Regions from separate parts of the Homo sapiens genome. Here region 1 is linked to region 2. The links are contacts of gene promoters, found by promoter capture Hi-C in human tissues and cell types (Jung and others, 2019). All regions are on one chromosome and are shown on one strand. Each heading gives the region's core, a stretch centred on a gene start or on the middle of the fragment in contact. The rest is flanking DNA. Distances are from core to core; before and after follow the strand shown. Region 1 overlaps ATXN2 (ataxin 2). Region 2 holds the start of ALDH2 (aldehyde dehydrogenase 2 family member).

What was found. Contacts are between HindIII fragments. The study calls those that stand out against the background at their distance.
Region 1: a fragment that was not itself captured here is called in contact with the fragment with the promoter of ALDH2 in region 2 in 1 of the 25 tissues and cell types used here (dorsolateral prefrontal cortex).

The regions. Positions count from the first base shown.
Region 1 is chr12:111,451,713-111,458,270 of GRCh38, reverse strand. ATXN2 (ataxin 2) reads left to right here. Exons shown (of 25, transcript NM_001372574.1): 22 at 912-1,057; 23 at 2,015-2,242; 24 at 4,426-4,594; 25 at 5,431-6,057. The coding sequence ends at 5,459. Among named protein-coding and RNA genes, the nearest start is that of SH2B3, 49 kb to the right of the region's middle. The HindIII fragment of the contact is 9,101 bases long and covers 1-6,558 here.
Region 2 is chr12:111,764,466-111,771,087 of GRCh38, reverse strand. It overlaps ALDH2 (aldehyde dehydrogenase 2 family member), which reads right to left and starts at 4,155. Exons shown (of 13, transcript NM_000690.4): 1 at 3,992-4,155. The coding sequence starts at 4,105. RefSeq lists a silencer at 4,148-4,467 and an enhancer at 3,927-4,696. The HindIII fragment of the contact is 11,183 bases long and covers 1,522-6,622 here.

The sequences.
Region 1 (6,558 bases), core at 1,289-3,788, 310 kb after region 2:
CTGTAATCTCAGCTACTCGGGAGGCTGAGGCAGGAGAATTGCTTGAACCTGGGAGGCAGAGGTTGCAGTGAGCCTGGGCAACAGAGTGAGTGAGACTTATATCTCAAAAAAAAACAAAAAACAAAAAACTGAAAGACATGAAGAAATGGTTTTTGTACCAAGGTTTGGCCCACGCTGAGATTCACAAAGAACTGGCTTTCAGTTCTTATCTTTATTTTGATTTAAACTGGCCCATCATGTTGTCCTTTGAAGTTAGTCTAGTAAATTTCTTTCCAAAGGGCTGGGGCACTCAGAAGGGAGTTTACTTTTCTATATTTATTTCATAAAGCAAAGATGGGAGATCCTCCATTAGGGCTTGGGAAAGTAAACTGAGTGGCAGAAGGGCTCCTGTGATTAGCTGAGAGAGACTGTGGTCCTTCGGCCCTGATGATAGATCCCTGGCCTTGCCACATACCATACACAGTGCCCGCACCCCCATCCCCCACCACACCCAATATAGTCTGTGCCCTCAGGACATTGCTCCAGGGCAGTAGCATGGTGAGGTTAGCCTGATGATGGCCTTGAGCTAAAGAGTGTGCACCTAAAATGCACTTGTTTGAGTAGTTTCTGCCTATGCCTTCAAGTTGCCTTTTTGGGAAAACCTAGTGACCGTTAAGAGTAAATGCAAACTAATTTGATTTTAATATCATATGTAGAGCTGTATTATATGAACCAAATGCTAGTCTGTTAAGCAATAGCTACACTTATTTTTTCAAGACAATGGATGGTTTAAATGGAGTCATCTATAGAAATTGGTAGTGGCGTGAGTTATGCATTGTAACCATCAAGAAAGTTCAGTTGATGAAGTGTAGAGGAGCGATGGAGGTTGTCAGACATCGGTTGTGTACATGCTCCTTTTTCTTTCACTTTAGTTTCCACGGGCTCCCTTGCTCAGCAGTATGCGCACCCTAACGCTACCCTGCACCCACATACTCCACACCCTCAGCCTTCAGCTACCCCCACTGGACAGCAGCAAAGCCAACATGGTGGAAGTCATCCTGCACCCAGTCCTGTTCAGGTAAGGGCAACTCAGAGGTCTGCATGGAGTGGCTTCTTTATCCTAGTATCTGAGTGCTTTCTTCAGGTGCCAGGTATCGCATCGTCAGAACACATGGCATGTCCACCCTCGTGAAGATGGATACAGCTGTGCCCCTGGGGTGGTGGTTTTAAGAATCACATTTAAAGGCTGGGCGCAGTGGCTCACGCCTGTAATCCCACCACTTTGGGAGGCCGAGGCGGGTGGATCACGAGGTCAGGAGATTGAGACCATCCTGGCGAACACTGTGAAACTCCGTCTCTAATAAAAATACAAAAAAATTAGCCGGGCGTGGTGGTGGGCGCCTGTAGTCCCAGCTTCTCGGGAGGCTGAGGAAGGAGAATGGCGTGAACCCGGGAGGCGGAGCTTGCAGTGAGCAGAGATCGCGCCACTGCACTCCAGCTTGGACAACAGCGAGACTCTGTCTCAAAAAAATAAAAAATTAAAAAAAATCACATTTAAGATACATGTTGATAATAAGGTGATTGGATAAGCTCTGGAAACTTGCAGTAATGAAAAATCAAATTTAACATAAAGTTCATAAGGCAAATTCCTATTTGCTTGGGACTTTTTAATTTCTAAGGTTTATGTGATGAGGTTATTTTCCTATGAGCTTCTTGAATTATGTTTGCTAATGGAGGCAGTTAAAGATGTCTTTGATATCTATCAGTTCCCTGGGGCAGTAGTCTTTTTTGACTTTAGTATGTATGCTCAGAAGTTTCTAACTGCCAGACTGAGAATCAGGCTTCTGTACCCTAGAAAGGAGTTGTCCAGATGGGAGGCACCTCCAGCCTTGCTCTTACCACCCTGTACATTCTCCTGTACTTTCCAGTGACCCTCATCATAGGCCCAAGTGTGCAAAGCTTAGCTTTGTGGGTATCCCTTGGCTGCTTTTCATTAAAGAAGTTTTCCTCTCAATTCTTTCCTGTCGCTTTGCAGCACCATCAGCACCAGGCCGCCCAGGCTCTCCATCTGGCCAGTCCACAGCAGCAGTCAGCCATTTACCACGCGGGGCTTGCGCCAACTCCACCCTCCATGACACCTGCCTCCAACACGCAGTCGCCACAGAATAGTTTCCCAGCAGCACAACAGACTGTCTTTACGATCCATCCTTCTCACGTTCAGCCGGCGTATACCAACCCACCCCACATGGCCCACGTACCTCAGGTAATACCAGCTTTAGCCAACTTTCTGTGAAGGCCAAGTAGAATGTGAAGGTTATCAGTAAGCAGCTAGAGGCTCTCCCAGCTAGGAAACCCTGTGTGTCATGCCATTTGCCTGTCTCCCTTTCCCTCTCAAATACACGTGATCTGGCCCTAAGGGAATGTTTGTGTGGTTTTGTCATGGGATCAGTGAAGGTGCTGATTGGTCAGTCCTTTAGTTTTCCAACTGAGACCTTAAAAATATCTTTGACTCTGGAATGCAACCCAGTCCTTCTTTCCTTTCTGTGTCTGCTTTGCTATGTCTATATAGCCTCACTACTATATATATGTGTACATATATATTCCCCTACACACTTACCTTGGAAGCCAGGCAGGGATGATGGCCTTCACAGAGTCTCAGCTCTCCGAAGTGACTACCGGGGCCTGTCAACTTGATTGTTACTCACATGAGTTCCAGACACATCTCTCCAATTGTTTTCCCTGGTTATCCATATATCTGCTTTGACCATAAGTTGTACTCTTGAGAGGGCTTGGCCTTGGACATTGGTGCAGTGTAACTAGAAGCTGGAAGCACCCAGGTGGTCCCATTTTTCTTTAAGAGCAGCCCTGGAAGCACTTTGGAGCTCACCTCCAGTGTAAGCTGCTACAGGTGAAAGGTGTGCTTGCCATCTCAGTGGTTGCTGTCTGCATCAGCTGCTGACAAAGGTCCCTGCACTCCAGGGCCCAGGGGATTGTCTTAATGAGGAGAAGGAGCTGCACTGAAGTTGGGCTCTAACGCTGGCCTTGAGGCCCTCCCTGGGGCTGTTACGGGTGAATTGGCTGTATTAGATGTCTCTGCTACTTTCATAACAGAACTCTCTGAGGCGGGTCTAAGTGAGACCTGCCACAATGAATTCCATTTCCTGTTAAATAGTGCGCCAGTGAGGCTCTGGCAAGGTGTGGGCTAGAGATGCGACTCAGTTGGATCTATCTCTCAGAAGGCTACCTTGTAAGTAGAGTTCCACAGCTCTGGGAAGTTTGGGCGTCCTCACCCTGCAAAGTTTAGGTTCTGTGGTGTAGCGCACTGCAGTTGATTTGCTTTTTGATAGTGGGGAGGGAAGCCGGTTTGGTCCGTGTGGGCCAGCGTGGTTTGGTGGAGTCAGCTTCATAAGAGCTGGGGTCCTGTAGGTGTCTACCAGAGGCTGGTGGCTAAGTAGGCATGTGAACTTACATGTAAGTCAGGGATCCCTAAAACCTCACTCTGTTTTTGTGCTGAAAGGGCAAAAAGGTTAACACAGGGAAGCTCAAATTTGCCATGTGCCCGTTTGAATATGTGAGAGTAAAAACGGCATTTCATCCAAGGCTTATCGTAGTCTAGAACAGTGCACAGTGTGGGAAAAAGGAAACAAGGGCTCTTCCTGGCCCTGCCAACCCCCTGCAGAGCTGGAATCCAGCTGTTTGGGCTGACTAAAATCACCTTTCCAACTTGACAGTGAGTGAGACCAGGTTGAACTTGGTACAGAGACGCTGGGCTGGCCCAGATGACTTCAGGTTACTCCTTTCCATCTCACTGGAGCCATTAAAAACTCCAACTCCTCCTCCTCCTCCTGCTCCATCAGCATATCTCTGAGAGAGTCACGGGGGCCTAAGAGTCTCTTTTCACTGCCTGGTGAGCAGACCAGAAGCAGAGGGAGAGAGGCAAATGAACAGAGGTCCAAGTAATTCACATACTTGACTGTGACAGTCTCTGCTTATTAATGTAATCTGTTTTCCTATTTGAAAGGGATGTTATCTGCAAAACTACCTCAGGCCCCACATGGCAGCCTGATTCTGAAGCATCATTGAATCTTGTATGATATTAAGTTGAGAAAGCTGCCCTTGGATCCAGTGTCTAATCTTTGTGAAGATCTTACCCCATACATAGAATACAATGATCAGAAATGTCAAGGGTTAGGACAGCACAGCCCTGACTTCTACCCAGGCTCACTTGTTGCCTGCTCCCTGACCCTTGCAGGATCTGCCCAAAGGTGAAGCGCGTCTTCAGGTCAATAGATAATCTACTAGAGATTGTCCCCAGAGAACAGAACTGGGCCCTGAGGCCCACCGTTGCCCTTTCCTGAGAGTCCCAGCCCAGTGAAAGGAACACAGTTGACATGTTGTTGAAGCCGGAGATGTTGCCTGTATGCGTAAAAGAGCTCTCTGTTTCAGGCTCATGTACAGTCAGGAATGGTTCCTTCTCATCCAACTGCCCATGCGCCAATGATGCTAATGACGACACAGCCACCCGGCGGTCCCCAGGCCGCCCTCGCTCAAAGTGCACTACAGCCCATTCCAGTCTCGACAACAGCGCATTTCCCCTATATGACGCACCCTTCAGGTGAGGCGTGTGTGTGCAGGGGCCGCCGGGGCACCCCAAAGCATTCTGCTCGCACAGGTGGAATGGCAGGCAGGGCCAGTGCTTCAAGCCCCGCATTTGAGAACTAGCAAGACCCGTCCAGGAGTGTGCACAGGAGGGACTGTGACGATCAGTTCAGCATCAGGGCCTGAGGCTTCCGGGAGCCGAGTCTGTGTGTGTTCTGATGGTATACAGGATTTGGCTTGATGAGAAGCAGCAGCAGCAGCAACAGCAGCCTGATGCATGCCTAGGACTCAGTTGGCCTTCCTTGTTATGACAGGCTGGACAGGGCAGTGTTTTCCTTCCTGAGTCCCAAAAGTCTGACATGTGGGGGGTTATTACCATGGCAGAGTTTGATTGTAGCTCTGGAGAAGATACTGCTGAGAAAGCGCTGTGGATGGACTGGCTTTGAGTGTAGCGTTAGCCCCAGCCCCTGAACAGGGGAGAGCGCCCTGTGATTGTGCTCTACTACTTGATGGCTGCCATGGCGATACTTCACAGTCTGACCTGTTATTCTGAAAGCAATACTGGTGCTTGGCTAATATTTGGGGAGGGGGTTTGTTAAGGCCTTTTTTTCTACCCCATGAACAAGTCTTCTGGGAGTTTTATCTGAAGTGGTTTTACGTCTGACTGGTTTGTTTCTACCCACCCACCCAACCCTCCCCACTTTGGTGCAGATGGGAGGGGGAAAAGCGAATTCAATTTTGAGTTTTGTTCAGCTAGCACGAGGATAGTTTACAATCATGTGCTGCAGAGACACTAGGCTGATGTGTGGTGTTGCCAGTTTTCTGTTTCAATGTTCGCTTTTCTTTTTACAGTACAAGCCCACCACCAACAGCAGTTGTAAGGCTGCCCTGGAGGAACCGAAAGGCCAAATTCCCTCCTCCCTTCTACTGCTTCTACCAACTGGAAGCACAGAAAACTAGAATTTCATTTATTTTGTTTTTAAAATATATATGTTGATTTCTTGTAACATCCAATAGGAATGCTAACAGTTCACTTGCAGTGGAAGATACTTGGACCGAGTAGAGGCATTTAGGAACTTGGGGGCTATTCCATAATTCCATATGCTGTTTCAGAGTCCCGCAGGTACCCCAGCTCTGCTTGCCGAAACTGGAAGTTATTTATTTTTTAATAACCCTTGAAAGTCATGAACACATCAGCTAGCAAAAGAAGTAACAAGAGTGATTCTTGCTGCTATTACTGCTAAAAAAAAAAAAAAAAAAAAATCAAGACTTGGAACGCCCTTTTACTAAACTTGACAAAGTTTCAGTAAATTCTTACCGTCAAACTGACGGATTATTATTTATAAATCAAGTTTGATGAGGTGATCACTGTCTACAGTGGTTCAACTTTTAAGTTAAGGGAAAAACTTTTACTTTGTAGATAATATAAAATAAAAACTTAAAAAAAATTTAAAAAATAAAAAAAGTTTTAAAAACTGATCAAGTTAGTGTGTGTCTGTATAAGCTACTTCTTTGTAGGATACTTAATATCAAAGCAGGTGTGCTAAGGGTGCATTTTGAATATCCCGGAAGGTAGCTGTGAAATGATTTTTCTTCTTCACCCTTAGTTCTGGTTCAAGGTATCTCTAGAAAAAGACAAGACTGAGCTATTCTCTTTGGTGGATTAGAGATCTGCTTCAGGAGGAGGAAGGTTGGCCAGAGTTGGGCAGCACTGAAATTCCACATCCTCGGGCTGACACCGATTCTGTAAGCTTCCTTTTTAATATCTCCTGAACCAAAATGAGTGTCATTAGCTGGAAGTTCCCAATTCGGGCATTTTTCTACTTTACCAGTAGGGGGCAGGAGACACTCAGAAAAAAATTGCAATAAAGAAATCCAGAGGGCATGAAGGCTGAAAAGATACAAAGATGTACAAAGCTGCTTATTGACATGGATGGACTCATAAGCATTTGTTAGTATTCCCAGATTGCAACGGGGAGG
Region 2 (6,622 bases), core at 2,906-5,405:
TCAGTTCTCTCTTTAGTTCAGTGCTTCACACTGTAATCCCAGCACTTTGGGAGGCCAAGGAGGGAAGATTGCTTGAGCCTAGAAGTTCAAGACCCAGCCTGGGCAACATGGCAAAACCCCATCTCTATAAAAATTATAAAAAATTGGCTGGCTGCAGTGCCTTAATCCCAGCACTTTGGGAGGCCAGGGCAGGTGGATCACCTGAGGCCAGGAGTTCAAGACCAGCCAGCCTGGCCAACATGGCGAAACCTCATCTCTACTAAGAATACAAAAAAATTAGCCAGGCGTGGTGGTGGGCACCTGTAATCCTAGCTACTCAGGAGGCTCAAGCAGGAGAATCGCTTGAACCCAGGAGGTGGAGGTTAGAGTGAGCCAAGATCACACCACTGCACTCCACCCTGGGCAACAGAGCAAGAGTCTGTCTCAAATAAATAAAATAAAATAAAAAATACAAAAATTAGTCAGGTGTGGTGGGGTATGCCTGTAGTCTCAGCTACTTGGAAGACTGAAGTAGGAGGATAACTTGTTGACTGAGCCTGGGAGGTTGAGGCTGCAGTGAGCACTACTACACTCCAGCCTGGGCAACAGTGAGAGACCCTGTCTCAAAACAAAAACAAAAACAGAAAGAGAGGGTAAGAATAAAGATGCAAGTTTTAATTCACCCCAAACTCCCATTCTACTTTACCACAATCTAGCTCACCCCTTCAGGAAACAAACTGCAAATACAACAGCATCCATATCAAATGGAGTTTGATCACCAAGACACTGCAAGTCCACAGCGTCACTGTTATCCCAGCTCCTGCTTAAGGCTGCAGTCAATATGGAGGCACCAGTGGCCATGAAGCCAGCACTGCCTGTGGCTGCAGAAGCCTCACCCCATTTGGTCCTCACAGCAATTCGGTGATGCAGATGGAATTTTACCCCCCACATTTTTTTTTTTTTTTGAGATGGAGTCTCGCTCTGTCACCCAGGCTGGAATGCAGTAGTGTGATCTCGGCTCACTGCAACCTCTGCCTCCCAGGTTCAAGTGATGCTCCTGCCTCAGCCTCCCAAGTAGCTGGGATTACAGGTGCGCGCCACCATGCCCAGCTAATTTTTGTATTTTCAGTAGAGACAGGGTTTCACTATGTTGGCCAGGCTAGTCTCGAACTCCTGACCTCGTGATCCGCCTGCTTCAGTCTTGCAAAATGCTGGGATTACAGGTGTGAGCCACTGCACCCAGCCATTTTACCCCATTTTACAGATGAGGCAGCTGAGGTGCAGAGTCCACTGCTGTATGCACCATCCCTCTTCCCTGCTGAGTCAGCAATAAGGCCACACTGCAAACAGCCCAGGGGGCTCTAAGAGGTCCAGTTCCAGCACGGCGCCACCAGAGTAGAATGCTCTGTGGTCCTTGGAAAGGGTTAAATGAGATCTGAACGTACTCAGAATGATAACCCAGGTACATTGTTCAGTGAGACGGCGAGCTTCAGAATATAAGTGGTTGCATCTCATTTATGTTAAAAAAAAAAAAAAGTCTGGTGTGCTTGCATTCTCTCTCTCTCTCTCTTGCTGCAGGCACTTGTAAATGCAAACAAAATGTCTACAAGAGACACACCCACCTGTTCACAGTGCTCTTGGAGGGAGTAAAATGGGGTATCCAGAGAGGTTTATTTATTTATTTATTTTTTAAGAGATGGGTTCTTGCTCCATTGCCCAGGCTGGAGTGCAGTGGCACAATCATAGTTCACTGCAGCCTTACATCTAATCTCAAGCGATCTTCCCACCTTGGCATCCCAAAGTGCTGGAATTACAGGCATGAATCACCTTGACTGACCATGTCCAGAGAGTTGTAAGTCAGTCCTCTGCAATTTTATACAGTGGGCATGTGTTACTTTAATGATCTCAAAAAGTCTGATAAAGAAAAGCAGCCACAGGGAATTGACTCGGCTCCTCCAGCCTACACCCACAGAGTAAATCTGGAGAACAGGATGTGTTACCTATGGGCCTGGGTGCATATCTGGACCCAGCTGCCTCATCTGCATGTGATAAAGGATAAAGATTTTAATCAGATCCTGTGGCCAGAAGGGTTCCTAGGGCGATGGCTGTTCCTTGAGGACATTTCTGAGACAGGGTCTTGTTCTGTTGCTCAGACTAAGTGTAGTGGCCCAATCATAGCTCACTGCAGCCTCGAACTCCTAGGCTCAAGTGATCCTCCCACCTCGGCCTCCCATATAGCTGGGACTACAGGCATGTGCCACCGCACCTGACTAATTTACTTTTTTAGTAGAGACTAGACACAGGGTCTTGCTATGTTGCCCAGGCTGGTCTCGAAATCCTAGGCTCAAGGGATCATCCCACCTCAGCCTCCCATATAGCTGGGACTACAGGCATGTGCCACCGCACCTAACTAATTTACTTTTTTAGTAGAGACTAGAGACAGGGTCTTGCTATGTTGCCCAGGCTGGTCTCGAAATCCTAGGCTCAACGGATCATCCCACCTCGGCCTCCCAAAATGCTGGGATTTACAGGCATGAGCTACTGCACCTGGCCTCTGCTAGATCTTTTGATGCTCAAGTCTTCCAAGCATGAACTTGCACAGGCTGCCAAGGGAGCCATAGCTGCTGCCTTTTTAGCTTGTGTTATGCAAAAGATTTTATTTTATCCTTTTAAAAATTCCCTTGCAAATGACCTTTGTAACATCCCCTAAAATCACACGCATGTGCCTTTACCCATCACCTATATCCAGATTTGCAGCCACACTCAGGGCCAGACCAGCAGGTGTGCTGTTGAAAGCAGCTGGCTAGGAGCCAGCTCTACAGCATCCCAAATCAGCAATAGTCCCAGAGGATCGGTGGTCCCTTTGTTCCCACCCAGAGTCACAACATACCATGGAATGTTCTGGTTAGGGGCTTACTCCTGGAAGTTCAGCTGTGAACCCCAACTATGCCACTGACTTTGGTCTTTAGGTGAGTCACTAAACCTCTTTGTGACTCAGTCTCTTCATCTGTAAAATGGAGAATTACAGTCCCTTCCTACTGAGGCTGTTGTAAAAATTACCTTAAATTGCAAAACAGGTAGACGCTTAGAACAGTGCTGCACAAAGGCTGTGCAGACAGGACAGGAGCTGTGATTAACTATGAAGTGACTGGTTGATGAGGGCCTGTGTGAACCTAACCCTCAGAGCGCCTTTCCATTTATAGGAGAAAAAGCTTAAGTCAGAGAAGGCAGCCAACATGCACTGGCACAAACAAAACAAACTCTTTCATAACCAATTTCAGCCTCTGTGAAGTCTAGAACTTTAACCAAACTCAAAGATCAAAACAAAAAATATTCCAAAGTATTACTGATTGAGCAATCAATAAATGGACCACAGGAATCAGTTTTATCCTGGAAAGCTCCTCCTTGGTTTGGTCGAAGCCGGCGTTGGAAGCCGCAGACACCCCTTGGGGTCGGCCCCCTGGGGCCGAAGGTCCTCCAGGATTCCCTACTCCCAGCAATGGAAGCAGCCGAGCGTGGCCTCGCCCATGGTGAACTGGAGAACGTGGCTGCAAATCACCTCTTTCCTGGTTTTTCCTTTTGAACTCCTTGGATGAGGGCATGAGTCAGGGGGTAAAGGGGATGACTAAGGAAAAGACAGGAAAGTTCCTGCAAAGAGGGACTTGGTCGCGTCTTCTGAGTGGGTGAGGGTGGGGACCCTGCGGAGACCCGAAAGCAAGGACCATGGGGAGAACGGAACCCCGAGAGTTGGCCCTGGAAAACAGACCGAGGCTGGGCGAAGACGGAGAGGGGGCCCAAGTCACGGGGAAATGGGACGGGGACTGTCAGAGGCGGCGAAGGGGCTAAAATGCTTGCAGGAGAGGAGGGGGCAGATGTGCTTCCAGGTCAGCCTCTGCAAACCCCTCGAGCCCCAGATGAGTACACTAAGGCCCACGGCGGCGCGGGGCCTTCCTAGGGGCCTGCGGGGGACTCGGGCCGGAAAACAAAGCGCGAGCCCGGCCGGTGGGCTCACCTGGTTGCAGAAGACCTCGGGCTGCTGGTTGGGGGCAGGCACGGCCTGGGTGGCGGCGGCTGACAAGAGGCGGCGGCCCAGGCGGGGCCCGAAGCGGGCGGCAGCGCGCAACATCGCAGCGGGCTAGCGGACAGCGAGCGGACCGAGAGCAGAGCTAGGGTCTCAGGGCCACTGAGCCGACCCCGCTCCCCGCCCCGCGCGGCAGCCAATGGAAAGGCGGGGGCGGGCCGGGGGCGGGGCTGCCTCTACCATTCCTCGGGATGGGGCGCGCAGCTGATGCAAGCGAAGCGGGTGGCGCTAGGTACCCCCGGCCCGTGGCTGCCCCCTGGCTCGCGCGACGCCTCCGCGCCCGCCACCGCCCTCCGCCTGTGCGGAAAGACCCGGCCCCGCGAACGCAGCTCGCCTTGGTTGAGCCCCCAATGTGTGCCTTTGACCCCAATGTGAACAGGCCCGAGCCAGGGCGACCCTGACCTTCCCGGCTGATGCTCCAGGTGAAGAGACCGGCCGTAAACCCAAAAGCGAGATCATTTCGGAGGTGAAGGAGATGAACGAGGTGACATGGATGGGGCAGACGGCACTGCTTTTATAAGTACCATGGTCAGGAAATGACAAGTGAGACCTGAATGATGACAGGGAACAGCAAGGGCAAAGGCCAGGAGATGAGACCACCTGGCACGTGTTAGAGAAATGGAAAGAATGAATGGAGCCCAGTTAACAAGGAGAGAGGCGGCCAGGGCAAGGGCAGGGACGGTCTTGGAAGCAGCGGTTCAGAGTTTAGAACAGGATGATTTGCATGATTTGCTTATTCTTTTTTTTTTTTTTTTTTTTGAGACGGAGTCTCACTGTGTCGCCTAGGCTGGAGTGCAGTGGCACGATCTCGGCTCACTGCAAGCTCTGCCTCCCGGGTTCACACCAGTCTCCTGCCTCCGCCTCCGGAGTAGCTGGGACCACAGGCGCCTGCCACCACGCCCGGCTAATTTTTTGTATTTTCAGTAGAGACGGGGTTTCACCGTGTTAGCCAGGATGGTCTCGATCTCCTCACCTCATGATCCGCCTGCCTCGGCCTCCCAAAGTGCTGGGATTACAGGCGTGAGCCACCGCGCCCGGCGGTGGGACTCTGATTTCAACACCAGATTCCACCAAAGTCGCCCTGGGGGCTCAGCACCATTCCACACAAACCAGAGGAAGAAAAGGCATGGGGGTGGCCCATGGGAGGTTTCTGTGGGCTGAGCCTGCTCGCCTGGCTGGATTTCAATCACACAACCATGCCTCCATGCAAAAGAGTCTGGGAAATGAGTGGCCCCTGTGCCAGGAAGAAGGGAAATAGGTTTGGAGATCAGCTGCAGAGATAATCTGATAACCAAGACTCCCTTCCTTCTCTGAATTCAGCCATGCAGGCCCCACTTCCCCTTCCCAATGGCGCCTTGCTTTTTTTTTTTAGATGGGGTTTCACTCTTGTTGCCCAGGCTGGCACCATGTGGGCTCACTGCAACTTCCACCTCCCAGGTTCTAGCGATTCTCCTGTCTCAGCCTCCCAAGTGGCTGGGATTACAGGCGCATGCCACCACACTTGGTTAATTTTTGTATTTTTAGTAGAGATGGGGTTTCATCATATTGGTCAAGCTGGTCTCGAACTCCTGACCTTAGGTGATCCGCCCACCTCGGCCTCCCAAAGTTCTGGGATTACAGGCATGAGCCACCGTGCCAGGTACTTTTTTTCCCTTAATACTGTGTGTGGAGATCGTTTTGTCACAGCACACAAGGACTATGTCCCCATTCTCTTCAACAGTTTCATGGTATTCCTCTGGATACATGAGGTAGTTTTATTTCATGAATTTCCTATGATGGACATTTAGGTTGTTTCCAATCTTTTGCCACTACAAACAATGCCACAATGTATGCTCTTGATTTGCTTAAGAAATTAATAGAAATGAGGCTGGCACCATGACTCGTGCCTGTAATCTCAGCACTCTGGGGGGGAAGCTGAGGCGGGTAGATCACTTGAGGTGAGGAGTTCGAGACCAGCCTGGCCAACATGGTGAAACCCCATCTCTACTAAACACACACACACACACACACACACACACACACACACACACACACACACACACACAATTAGCCAGGAATGGTCGCAGTGCCTGTAATCCCAGCTACTCCAGAAGGTGAGGCAGGAGATTGCTTGAATCTGGGAGACAGAGGTTGCAGTGAGCCAAGAGCTGAGATCGTGCCACTGAACTCCAGCCTGGGTGATAGAGTGAGACTACGTCTCAAAAAAAAAAAAAAAAGAAAAAAAAAAAGAAAAAAAAAAGAAAGAAAAGAAAAGAAAGAAATTAGTAGAAATGGAACAAAGAATATTTACAATTTAAATACAGATATATTACCCTCCAAAGAAGTTTAATTTATGCCCCACTACCTGTCATGTCTGAGTTTCCTTACACCCTCACCAGTAGAAGTTTCAGGATTTTTTTTTTAGCTTTGCTAATCTGAGAGACGAAAAAGTGGCATTTCACTACCACATTAATTTGCTTCTCTTTTACGAGTGAGCTTGAGCATCTCTGCCTAGATGAAGTCATGCATGTTTCCTCTGCTATGAACTAGCTGCTCATGTCTCTGGCTCACTTTTCTATTGGA